3 separate regions of the Homo sapiens genome follow, and regions 1 and 2 are each linked to region 3. The links are contacts of gene promoters, found by promoter capture Hi-C in blood cells and fetal thymus (Javierre and others, 2016). All regions are on one chromosome and are shown on one strand. The core of a region is centred on a gene start or on the middle of the fragment in contact, and the rest is flanking DNA. Distances in the headings are between cores, read along the strand shown.

Region 1 (3,357 bases), core at 30-2,529, 300 kb after region 3:
ATTAATTTGCTAAGCAGCAAGAGCTCTTGTTTTAGAAATGTATGATAAATTATTTAAGGGTGGAATGTCAGGATATCTGCAATTTATTTAAAAATACTTCCACATAAAAAAAAATACCGTGAGTTAAAAATACAGAAGTGGAGTGGAGCACCTGGCCCCTGAGCTCTGATGATGACAGGGCCTGCTATAGGCCCATCCTGTTCCTCCATGGAAATTAGACAAATGACCCATCTTGCAGAGAGATCACAAAAAGGCACACACACCCCCACCCCCAGCCCCGGGCCTACTGATTACAAAAATGCACCCTAGCCAATACCTGGTAGAATTCCAACCCTGCTGGCCCAAACACCCAGGGACTTCCTGTGGTTATGGGATAACAGCCAACACAGCCACCATCGAAGCAGAGTCCACAGTCTCAGCGAGGTGCTCAAATCTTGGTGCAGCCCTGAACTTGACATTGGTCAGCAGATCTCCACAACAGCTGCACCTAGAGTTGCACACACCACACCAGCTTTCCTGGTGTTTTTCTCTTTTCTTTGTACATTATATGTAAACATCATTTTTCCAATTCTAAGAATCCCGACATTCAATAAAGGGAAATATGTTAGATTCTTGTATCTACTATTTTTTCCCCAACCAACCTTTCTCAAGCATTAGTAGGTAAGAGAGCAGGAGCAAGTGGTCCAGCCATGCTTCCAGGGCTGAGGCTTTCCTCTCTCCTCCTCCTGACTCCCCTCCTCCTGAACAAATCCTATTCCCTCCCAGCACCCTCTCTGAGGATTCCTCGGTCACCACCCCAAGAGCTCAAGGAGAAGCGGCTTGGTTGGGAGGACCCTCTCCTCTGCCTCTTGCTGCTAATGGCACCTGCACCTAGTTTGCAGGTGCCCTCAGCTTCAGATGGGGGACTGGGGAGGAGGACAAGAAAGAAGGCTGGAGAGGGAAGTGGGGCAGGAAGAAGTGACCTTGCAGCCAGAGGACCAGCAGGAGGCTGATCCCAGGGGTGGGTATACATGTGGCCGCTTCCCCTTCCCCAGCCCTCCAGGGCTCCCAGATCTGATGCTCCTGAGGAGAAAAATCTGAGCCTGAGGAACTGAGGGAAGGGAACAGGAAGGGCCTCTGTGGGGAAGGGAGAGCATCTCAGCCAATCACCGTGACCTGCCAGTTACCTGACCAGGCACAAAGCTTAACTATGTCCTTCCCATATTTGACCTGGGACAACACCCTTTCGTCTGGCTTTGCTGCCCTCCCCAAACTGGGCTGCAAGAAAGGAGCTCAGGCACAGTGGTGGGAAACAGTGTTCCCTGCAGCTGTCAGTATTTCCAAAGTTGTCACCAAGTGTCCCCAGGTGAGCTCCTCCCCTGAGGAAATGGCCTCCCCAAGCTTCTGGGAGAAATGCCATCACCTGCCCCCTAGAGAAGGACGGGCCCTCCATATAAACAGCTCCCCCATACAGAGCCAGGAAGGAGGACTGACTGATTTTTCTGCCTAAAACACAATCCTGTGTATGACGAAAGATACTACAAACAATGTTTTTTAAAATGTAAACGGAGGCCAGGCGCAGTGGCTCACGCCTGTAATCCCAGCACTTTGGGAGGCCAAGAGGGGCGGATCATGAGGTCAGGAGTTCAAGACCAGCCTGGCCAACATAGTGAAACCCTGTCTCTACTAAAAATACAAAAATTAGCTGGGCGTGGTGGTGCATGCCTGTAATCCCAGCTACTTGGGAGGCTGAGGCAAGAGACTTGCTTGAACCTGGGAGGCGGAGGTTGCAATGAGCTGAGATCATGCCACTGCTCTCCAGCCTGGTGATAGAGTGGGACTCCATCTCAAAAAAAAAGACAAAAAAGTAAAGCGAGATTTTAAAAATAATATATATGTTATACAAAGATTAATATCCAAACTATAAAAGGAACTTGTGAAATCAATAAGCAAAGGGCAACAACTCAATAGAAGAAACAGAAAAGGATAGAATTGCAATCCAAAGAAACGCCCCATGGAAAATTAATACATGGAAGGCAAGATCAATTTTATCAGTAAGTGGGAAAATGCAAATTAAAACAACAATGGAGGGATCATTTTTCACCTATTAAATTAATACAAATTTAAAAGATTGGTTATTCCCAGCAGTGACGATGTTGTGAGAAAATTGGCATCTCAAAGGATGTCGGTGGGAATATAAATTAGTCTATCCTTTTAGGAAATCAATTAGTCCAGATTTATCAAAATATTAGATGTATATCCACTTTCCACAGACAATTCCATTTTTAGTGTCTGCATGAGAGAATAAATCATGTGTGCACAAAGAGGCATATGTAAAAGGTTATTTGCTGCAACATTTTATATAATAGTGAAACTTAGAAACAAATCAAATGGCTACAAATAGGAAAGGAAGGAAATAAATGAGGCTACATCTCTAGCCTAGGGCACTAAACAGCAGGTTAGAAAGGAGGCAGATATGTGTGTTCTAAATGCACAGAGCAGATTGACTAAACAATTTAGCTCAAAAAAATCAAGCTGCTGAGTGACACACATCACAGTACCTCATTTATATCAGCAAAATTGAAGATAAAGCTATATCCCCAGTGATACGGTTTGGATCTGTGTCCTCACCAAATCTCATGTCTAATTGTAGTCCCCAGTGTTGGCGGTGGGGCTTGGTGGTACGTGAGTGGATCATGGGGGTGAATTTCTCGTGAACAGTTTAGCACCGTCCTCTTGGTACTGTCCTCGAGATAGTGAGTGAGTTCTCATGAGATCTGGTTGTTTAAAACCATTTGTTCTCACTCATAGGTGGGAATTGAACAATAAGAACACCTGGACACAGGGTGGGGAACATCACACACCGGGGCCTGTCATGGGGTCAGGGGACGGGGGAGGGATAGCATTAGGAGATATACCTAATGTAAATGATGAGTTAATGGGTGCAGCACACCAACATGACACATGTGTACATGTGTAACAAACCTGCACATTGTGCACATGTACCCTAGAACTTAAAGTATAATTAAAAAGAAAAGAATTCAGTCCCCCTTTGTCTTCTGCCCTGATTGGAAATTTCCTGAGGCCTCCCCAGAAGTAGAAGCTGCTATGCTTCCTGTACAGCCTGCAGAATCATGAGCCAATTAAACCTCTTTTTAAATTACCCAGTCTCTGGTATTTATAGCAACGCAAGAATGGACTAATATACCTAGACACAATGTATGTGTGCATGTATGCATGTGTGTGTATGCATGCATGTGTGTGAATGTGTGTGTGTAATAACAGGAAAGAATGTGTGCAAGAATTGCCTCAAGATGCTACCATGGGTAATGTCTGGGTAGGGGCAGGTGACTGGGATGGAACAGGGAGTGTGAAGGG
Region 2 (3,435 bases), core at 173-2,672, 260 kb after region 3:
ACTAGAGCAACAACAATTCAAAAATCAACATCCAGTCATATAACCATCTCAGCTGCTAGAGAGGTGAGGGGAGGGCAACTTCAGGCACAGAAGAATTTTCAAGGTATAGATATTTCTTAATTCATACAATTTATTCCAGGAAATAGAAAAGAGGGGAGAAGCTGCTCATATAATTTCTGTGGCTAGAACAATATTAATACCAAAACCACACAAGGACCAAATAAGAATAATGGGTTATCAGCCCATTTTTATTTATGATCATAGATTCTGTAATCTAAGATCATCGTTCAGATTCTCAGGGAAAGATGGCAGATGGAACATACACCTTTATTTCTGTTCGCTCCTAAAACCCACAAAAATGAACATAAAGAAATGCAGGAAACATAGGAACGAGGGAAACTAGAAGGTAAAATAGCAAGAAAATTTGGGGAGCTGAAAAAAATATATAAGTAAGTGGGAAATGACTTAGAAGTGAGAAAACAGAACCTTTCATCAGAGTTGAGGAAGGCAGAAGTCAAGTCTTATTTACACAACAGTATTGCCAAGATGGCTGAGAAAGTGGAGGTGGTTTAGGGGAGTCCGATTAAGAAGAAATGGTAGAAAGTTGTTTAAGAAGCAATGAGGAACCCAGATCCCCTTGCCACTTTCTGTAGATGAGCGACCTTGACCCACCTTGGCAGACAACTGGGAATGAATGCCTTAGAGAGGTTGCAAAGAAGGCTGGGTTTCTGTGTGTGGTAGGGAAGGGGTGGGCAATAGGTATAGGTGAGGATGGTGACAATGTCCTGAAAACCATGGGATTATGTGAAGAACATGTACCAGAAGCTGAGAAACACTCCAGCCCTCTTCTCCTATTTGGATTCCAGAAAGTTGGCAGCCAGATCTTCTTCCTCCAGACAAGAGATGGGGTGAGTCTTCCCTGGGGATCCTGAGCAGCCCAAGAGAGAAGGCTGAATGATATTGACAAGGCACTTCCTCAAGCAAATGGCCAAGGAGTCACCCTCCTGTGAAACTCCCAGGGCACCAGCCCCACTGTGGGCTCACAGCATCCAATTATCTTTAGAATTTTGTTACCCAGGCCTGAGAAAAAGCTCTCAAGTGAAAGAGAAGAAAGAAACTAAACAGAGAATAGTGAAGGCAACTGGGAAGAAACAGAGACCACCTAAGGAACCATAAATAAAAACAGAAAACTTTTTCTCCAAGGGCTGTTTCCAAAACAGAGGGAGGCAGAGAGAGAATGAGAACAACAGAGAAATGGGAGAGAAAAAAAAAGAAAAAGACAACTGATCCAGGAGGTGAATGCTTGAATAAAAGGAGTTCTAGAAAGACAGAACATAGAAAACAGAGAGGGGAAAATCATGCATGAACTAATTCAAGAAATTTTCCTGTGAATTTCTAGATCGAAAAGGCCACTCACTGTGCGGAGCAAAGGGATGGAAATAGACACACTCCAAGGCTCATCCCTGTGACATTCCAGGACACCGAGAACAAAAAGAAAACGCTGATAAAGTGAAGACAACAGATCACATATTGCCATAGTTATCATAATTGCTCCTGACTTTTCAACAACAATAGGAGCAAGAAGGTAACATAGCAATGCCTTCAAAATCCTGAGGACAAATTGTTTCCAACTCAGAATTTTTTATATCAGTCAAACTGTCATGGTAAAACAGGCATTTTTAAATATAAAAGTTGTCAAAATGTATTTTCCATTCCCCCTTTCTCCCGTAGTTACTCAAGGATGGGTTCCACCAGTACAAAGGAGTAAACAAAGATCCAAGAATCAAGAAAACGTTGTAGAGGAGACAAAGAGAAGCCCCAGAAACATGAGGAAGAGACAGCTGTGTACCAACTGGTGGAGGCAGTGCATCCATACAGGGCAAAAAAAGGCTGCAGGCATGACTTTTTAGGAAGATGCTCAACAAAATACTTGCTGAGAAAAAAAAAAACAAAACTTAGAAATGCTGGTTCCAAAACATGTGCTTTTGTTTGTTTGTTTTTTCTTGTTCTGACTTTTAATTCATTACACCACTGCTCTCCAAGAAAAGGCTATCAATTATTCCCTTCCAACAATGCATAAGAATGACTTTTTCCCTACTTCTCCAGGACAGAATATAATTATCATTTATTTTAATCTTTTTTGAACTGTTAAAAAGATAAACTGAGGCACAGTAAAATTTTAAAGAGTTTTGGTGAGTTTTTTTTAGCATGAACAATTTATGAACTGAGCAGCTCCGAACCAGAAATAGTTTGGGAGCTCCACTGAGGAACACAAAGAGGAGACTTTTATAAGACAGACACAGAAGTAAAGCAAAGTATTTAATTGGTTACTGTTATACAATTGCTTTTTTTGGTCTCTCAACTTGGAAAGCCCCTCGTTATCTAAGTTTGTATAAATAGTAACTTCTGATTGGTTGAGCTTAAGTTCTGCTTTTAAAAATATATATATAGATATAGATATATATAGGCATTCACAAGAAATAGCTCAAGTTAAGTTTGGTTATGTTTGCAAATCAAGCAAGGTTTAGGTCACTTACAAATCATAACTTCTTTTGTCCCCTCTGGGATTCTTCAGGTCTGGTCTCCATTTTAATTTACTTTAACAATCCCACCGCGTTGGGTCACCCTCTCAGCAAGCTAAGAAGAAGGTGGTAGCATTCCTCTCAGTTACCACTAGTGAAATAGTCACTGGAACAAAGAGTCATGTAATCTTATCCTCAACAGTTGTATTGGGATATAAGATTACATGGCATCATTACCTGCATCATGGGCTTCAGTGGTAGGGTTGTTGAGTTCTTCAAGTCAATTAATGATGATGGCAATCATTTGATGTGTGAGTGCCTTCTGGAAAGCTTTGAAATCCTTGAGAGGATAAGATATAGTAGGATGGTAAACAAAATGACTACAGAGAGAATAATAGCCAAGGATTTTTAAATTCCCTGGAGCACAGATTCCCAGGAGCCAATATTTCACCAATAAAATAAATCAGTGGAGGAGGCAACACCTGTCTGATAAAAGACATATTTGTTCCTTAAGATCCTTTAAATTGGGCTCAACAATTTCTAATTTATTAATATAGAAACAATATTTTTTTTTACAAATAAGAGCCTCCTTGTTAAGTTGCTAAGGTATCAAGGACTTCTATTTTGGAGTACTATTGAGGTTAAATTGTTTATTTCAGATAGTATTGCTTGAAGGGAATTCAAGGTAGCATTCTATAAAAACAAAAGAAAAAAAAAAGGTTAACATTAGGAACAAATTATGATCTTAGTCTTTAAGTCCAGAGAGCAGCCTGTCAAGATTTCTAAATTTGAGTTTGAAGCATTTTTAGATGATGGAATGAGGATGGCAATTGCAACCTGATGGATTTTCCTGGCTTGCAGTTTGAATGTCTCTGGAAATATCATCAGGTGTTCCAGTGAATTCTCCAAGTGA
Region 3 (3,548 bases), core at 561-3,060:
AACCAAAATGCTGGGCATCACACTAACAGAGCACTCTGCTGCTCAGACTCTCTGGAGGAGTGAGCCCTAAATCTTCCAAACCATCTTGACTCCTCTTCTTTAGTCAGACCCTCCAAAGGGTGCCCTACCCTCTCATCCCCACCAGCCAAACCCATTTGGAGCTGTTTTCAGATCCGTTCCCCAGTGTTCTTAGGTTCCTCATTTTCAACCTACAAGTGACCCTGACCCCTTCCTTCTGCTTCCCTGAGAATGGCCTAGAGTGTTTGCACTGCTCCAAACACGAAGACTTTTGCCTCTGCTAAGTACCCATCATGAGAGCTGCAAAAATCATCTAGCCATCCTCTGCTGCTGTTCCGGCTCAGGGTCTTTTCTATGGGCCCCCATCATCTCTCTCTGGCCTCAGTAGGCTTCTCACTGGTCCCCTGCCTCTGCTCTTCCCAAGTGCTCAGACCACCTGTCTCACCTGTTCAGAGACAATGGCTTCCCACCTCAGTCTGAGAAAAAGCAAGGTACTTATGACAGCCCATAAGGCCCCAGTCCCTTTTACCCTTGTTATCTCTCTGGCTTAATCTCTTAGAACTCTTCAGTCACCCAGATGTATGTCCTCGCTAGTTCCTCAAACACCCCAGGAATGCTCCCTTCTCAGAGCCTTTGCTCACGTTGTTCCCTTCCTTGGAACGCTTTCCTCTTAGACAACCAAATGATTAGTTCCCTTGCCTTCTTCACGTCTTCTTCAATTGTCTCCTTTTCAAAGTCCTTCACCCTGGCCATCCTATAAGTACGTAACCCCACCTCTTAGCACTTCCTGTTTCCATTTCCTGTCTTTTCTCCTTGGCACTTGTCATCACAAAATAGACCATGTATTTTACTTACCTTATTTGTTGTTCAGTTCCTCAAGCTCCACAAATCATCACAGCAGGGATTTTCATTTGCTTTGTTCTTTTGCCATATTCCCAGTACCTGAAACAGCACCTGGCATAGAGTAGATACTCAATAAATATTTGTTAAGAAGAATAAAAGACTGACTGTGAGGGCACATAGCATGGAGGTTGAATATTTGGCCTGAAGTACAAAAGCCTGCATTTTAATCCCGGCTCTGCACACTTCTGTGACTCAGTTTACCTGTAACTTGGGATAATACACATCGCCTCCCATGGCTGTGGCAAGCATGCATCTGATTTCATTTAAACCCCTAAACCCACTGCCTGGCCTGTTTCAAAATCTCTGAGCTAAGTAAATGGCAGCTATTGTTACTCAGGGAGGCTCCTGATCGATTTGACATTACATTATGGCTTTGTAACAGGCAAATCAGCACCCACCGCTTTTGAGTCATAACTCACACACTTACTCCCCAAATTGTCAGTTTTGATCCCACCTCTGCCAGGACCCCTCCTTTCCTGAACCCACGTTCCCCCAAAGCAAATGGCCTGGGTCTTTTTGCAGTCAGCCCCTTTCAACACACATCTCCTCCTGTTTAAATCTCAGAAGGCCACCCTCCTAAATCTCAGGATGCCTGCCCTGGGGCCCCTTCCACACTCTCCCCCAGTGGAGCTAGGGAATTTGGGTGGGAAACAAAGGGGAGAACATAAGGTGAGCTGAGAGGGAGAGGGAGAAGAGAGCAGGCCAAGCCATACCCACCTGCCAGGTTCCTGTCTTTGCCTACTGATAAATAGGGGATACTAATGGCCAGATTTTCCATTCCCCCACCCCAGCACCCGCTGTCACTCAATTAAAAAAAGATAGAGGGAGAGAGCCTGGGGGAGGGGCAGGAGGCCTTGGCTATAAAGCCTGTGGCTAAGTGGGGAAAGCACGAAGCCTGGCCTGCTGGGTCCTTTTCCCGTCATCCCCAGCCAGATTTAGCTGCTGACAGCTGCTTGGGACTCTGCCGCCAGGGCCTGGCCCAGACCTGCCTGCCTCTCTCCTCTCCCTCAGTGACTCCTGAGCCACAGCCCCTCCATGGCCCAGAAGGAAGAGGCTGCTGTGGCCACTGAGGCTGCCTCCCAGAATGGGGAGGATCTGGAGAACCTGGACGACCCTGAGAAGCTGAAAGAGCTGATTGAGCTGCCGCCCTTTGAGATTGTCACAGGGTAAGCCTCAGATGTGGGTCAGGGTTCTGCTCCCTAGAAGAGTGCAGCCTTGGGTTAGGCTGTGGAAATTCAGGATGGTTATATTAGGCGTCAGGGACAGCTACAACCCTGCAGCAGTGAGAGTGCACCAGTGGGCCCGGCAGGGGTGGTAGGGGACCCAGCAGCAAATTCTCTTGGCTTCTCAGGGTGACACCTTGGGCTCTCTAATCAGGGAGAGGTAGGAGGAGCTCCTTGGAGGCAAAAGCCCAGAGAATAAAACCACCCTTCAGGCCTCCTGGTATTGGGATGGCCACCTGCCTCTCTGGGTAGAAGCTTAGTCCCAGGGAGTTTGGCGAGGACAGAGGATGAGACTGGCACATCTATATGTGGCTCCGTTCAAAGCAACCCTTCCCCTCAACTTCTCTGTTCCTGAGTGGGTCTCTCCGCTAGCCATAGGCCTCTAGCCCTTTCTTTAGAGCTTCTTCCTGGAGTAGATGCTCCCAAGACAGGAAAGATAGATCCATCCTTTCCCAAGACTCAGAAGCAGCTTTTTTCTTATTAAATCTTTTGAGTCTCCTCAGGGGCTGTCCCACAGAGAAACAGAGAAATTACATGCAGATAACGCAGCCCAGGAGCTTATGGACACAGGAGCTGTTCCAACATGCTCAGGCATTGCCTGGAGGAACTGGGACCCAAAGAAAAGGGTCTACAGACTGCAAGGAGGGGGCTGTGTGCAGGGTACCTCTGTCTTATCCAGATTATGCCATCTCCAGGAATAAAACTAAGTAGTCTTCTTCCTCTTCCCTTTCTATTCCTGTAGTGGAAGACCCTTCTAAATCCTGAGCAAAGAATAAAAAGAGAATCTATGAGGCCATATTTCCTCCTTGAACCAAACGTTCCCTTCATGGGGTCTCCAGGAATGACCACAGGCAGAGTGGGTGCGAGACTAAGAGAAGTTTCAGGAAGAAAGGAGGCATGATGCTTTCAAGGGGGAAAGGAAGCCCTGAGTGGCAATTTGGACTTGATATTTCAAGCTTGACAAGTGATTTTCCAGTCAGCCACAGTTTTAGCACTTATAACATGAAGATCTATAGTAGTAAGGTCCCTTCCAGCTCAGATGTTTTCTGATTTTCAAGAGAACCTAAGGGAAAATGCATCCTATTTCCTGAGGCAAGAGTAGCCCCTGAATTTCCATTTGCCCATGCCCACCCAACTAATCTCACCCTCATCCTAGGATTAAGGGAGCAGCTGGGCACAGATTAATATAGACACAGGGAAAGCCTAAGGCAGCCTGGCCAGGAGAGTCCTCAATTCCAGTGGCTTTCTTATGGAAGGAGAGCCTTTTTCTAACACCTAAGCATGCTGGTATACGCTATCCTTAGTCATACACACACGCGTGTGCACACTACACTCTTGTGTGGCTTTCCAACACAGAGGGAGGGTAGGTCAAGAACAGAATTAGACTATGTTTGTTCAGCTGAA

What was found. Contacts are between HindIII fragments. The CHiCAGO score rates a contact against its expected background, and 5 or more counts as called.
Region 1: a contact is called between a fragment that was not itself captured here and the fragment with the promoter of APOBEC2 in region 3, in 1 of 17 cell types (neutrophils). The highest score is 7.0, in neutrophils.
Region 2: a fragment that was not itself captured here is called in contact with the fragment with the promoter of APOBEC2 in region 3 in 1 of 17 cell types (neutrophils); the score reaches 10.0 in neutrophils.

Annotation. Positions count from the first base shown.
Region 1 is chr6:41,352,253-41,355,609 of GRCh38, forward strand. No RefSeq gene overlaps it. Among named protein-coding and RNA genes, the nearest start is that of NCR2, 18 kb to the left of the region's middle. The HindIII fragment of the contact is 198 bases long and covers 1,181-1,378 here.
Region 2 is chr6:41,313,010-41,316,444 of GRCh38, forward strand. No RefSeq gene overlaps it. Among named protein-coding and RNA genes, the nearest start is that of NCR2, 21 kb to the right of the region's middle. The HindIII fragment of the contact is 2,856 bases long and covers 1-2,850 here.
Region 3 is chr6:41,051,392-41,054,939 of GRCh38, forward strand. APOBEC2 (apolipoprotein B mRNA editing enzyme catalytic subunit 2) reads left to right here and starts at 1,811. Exons shown (of 3, transcript NM_006789.4): 1 at 1,811-2,087. The coding sequence starts at 1,957. The HindIII fragment of the contact is 6,727 bases long and covers 1-2,397 here.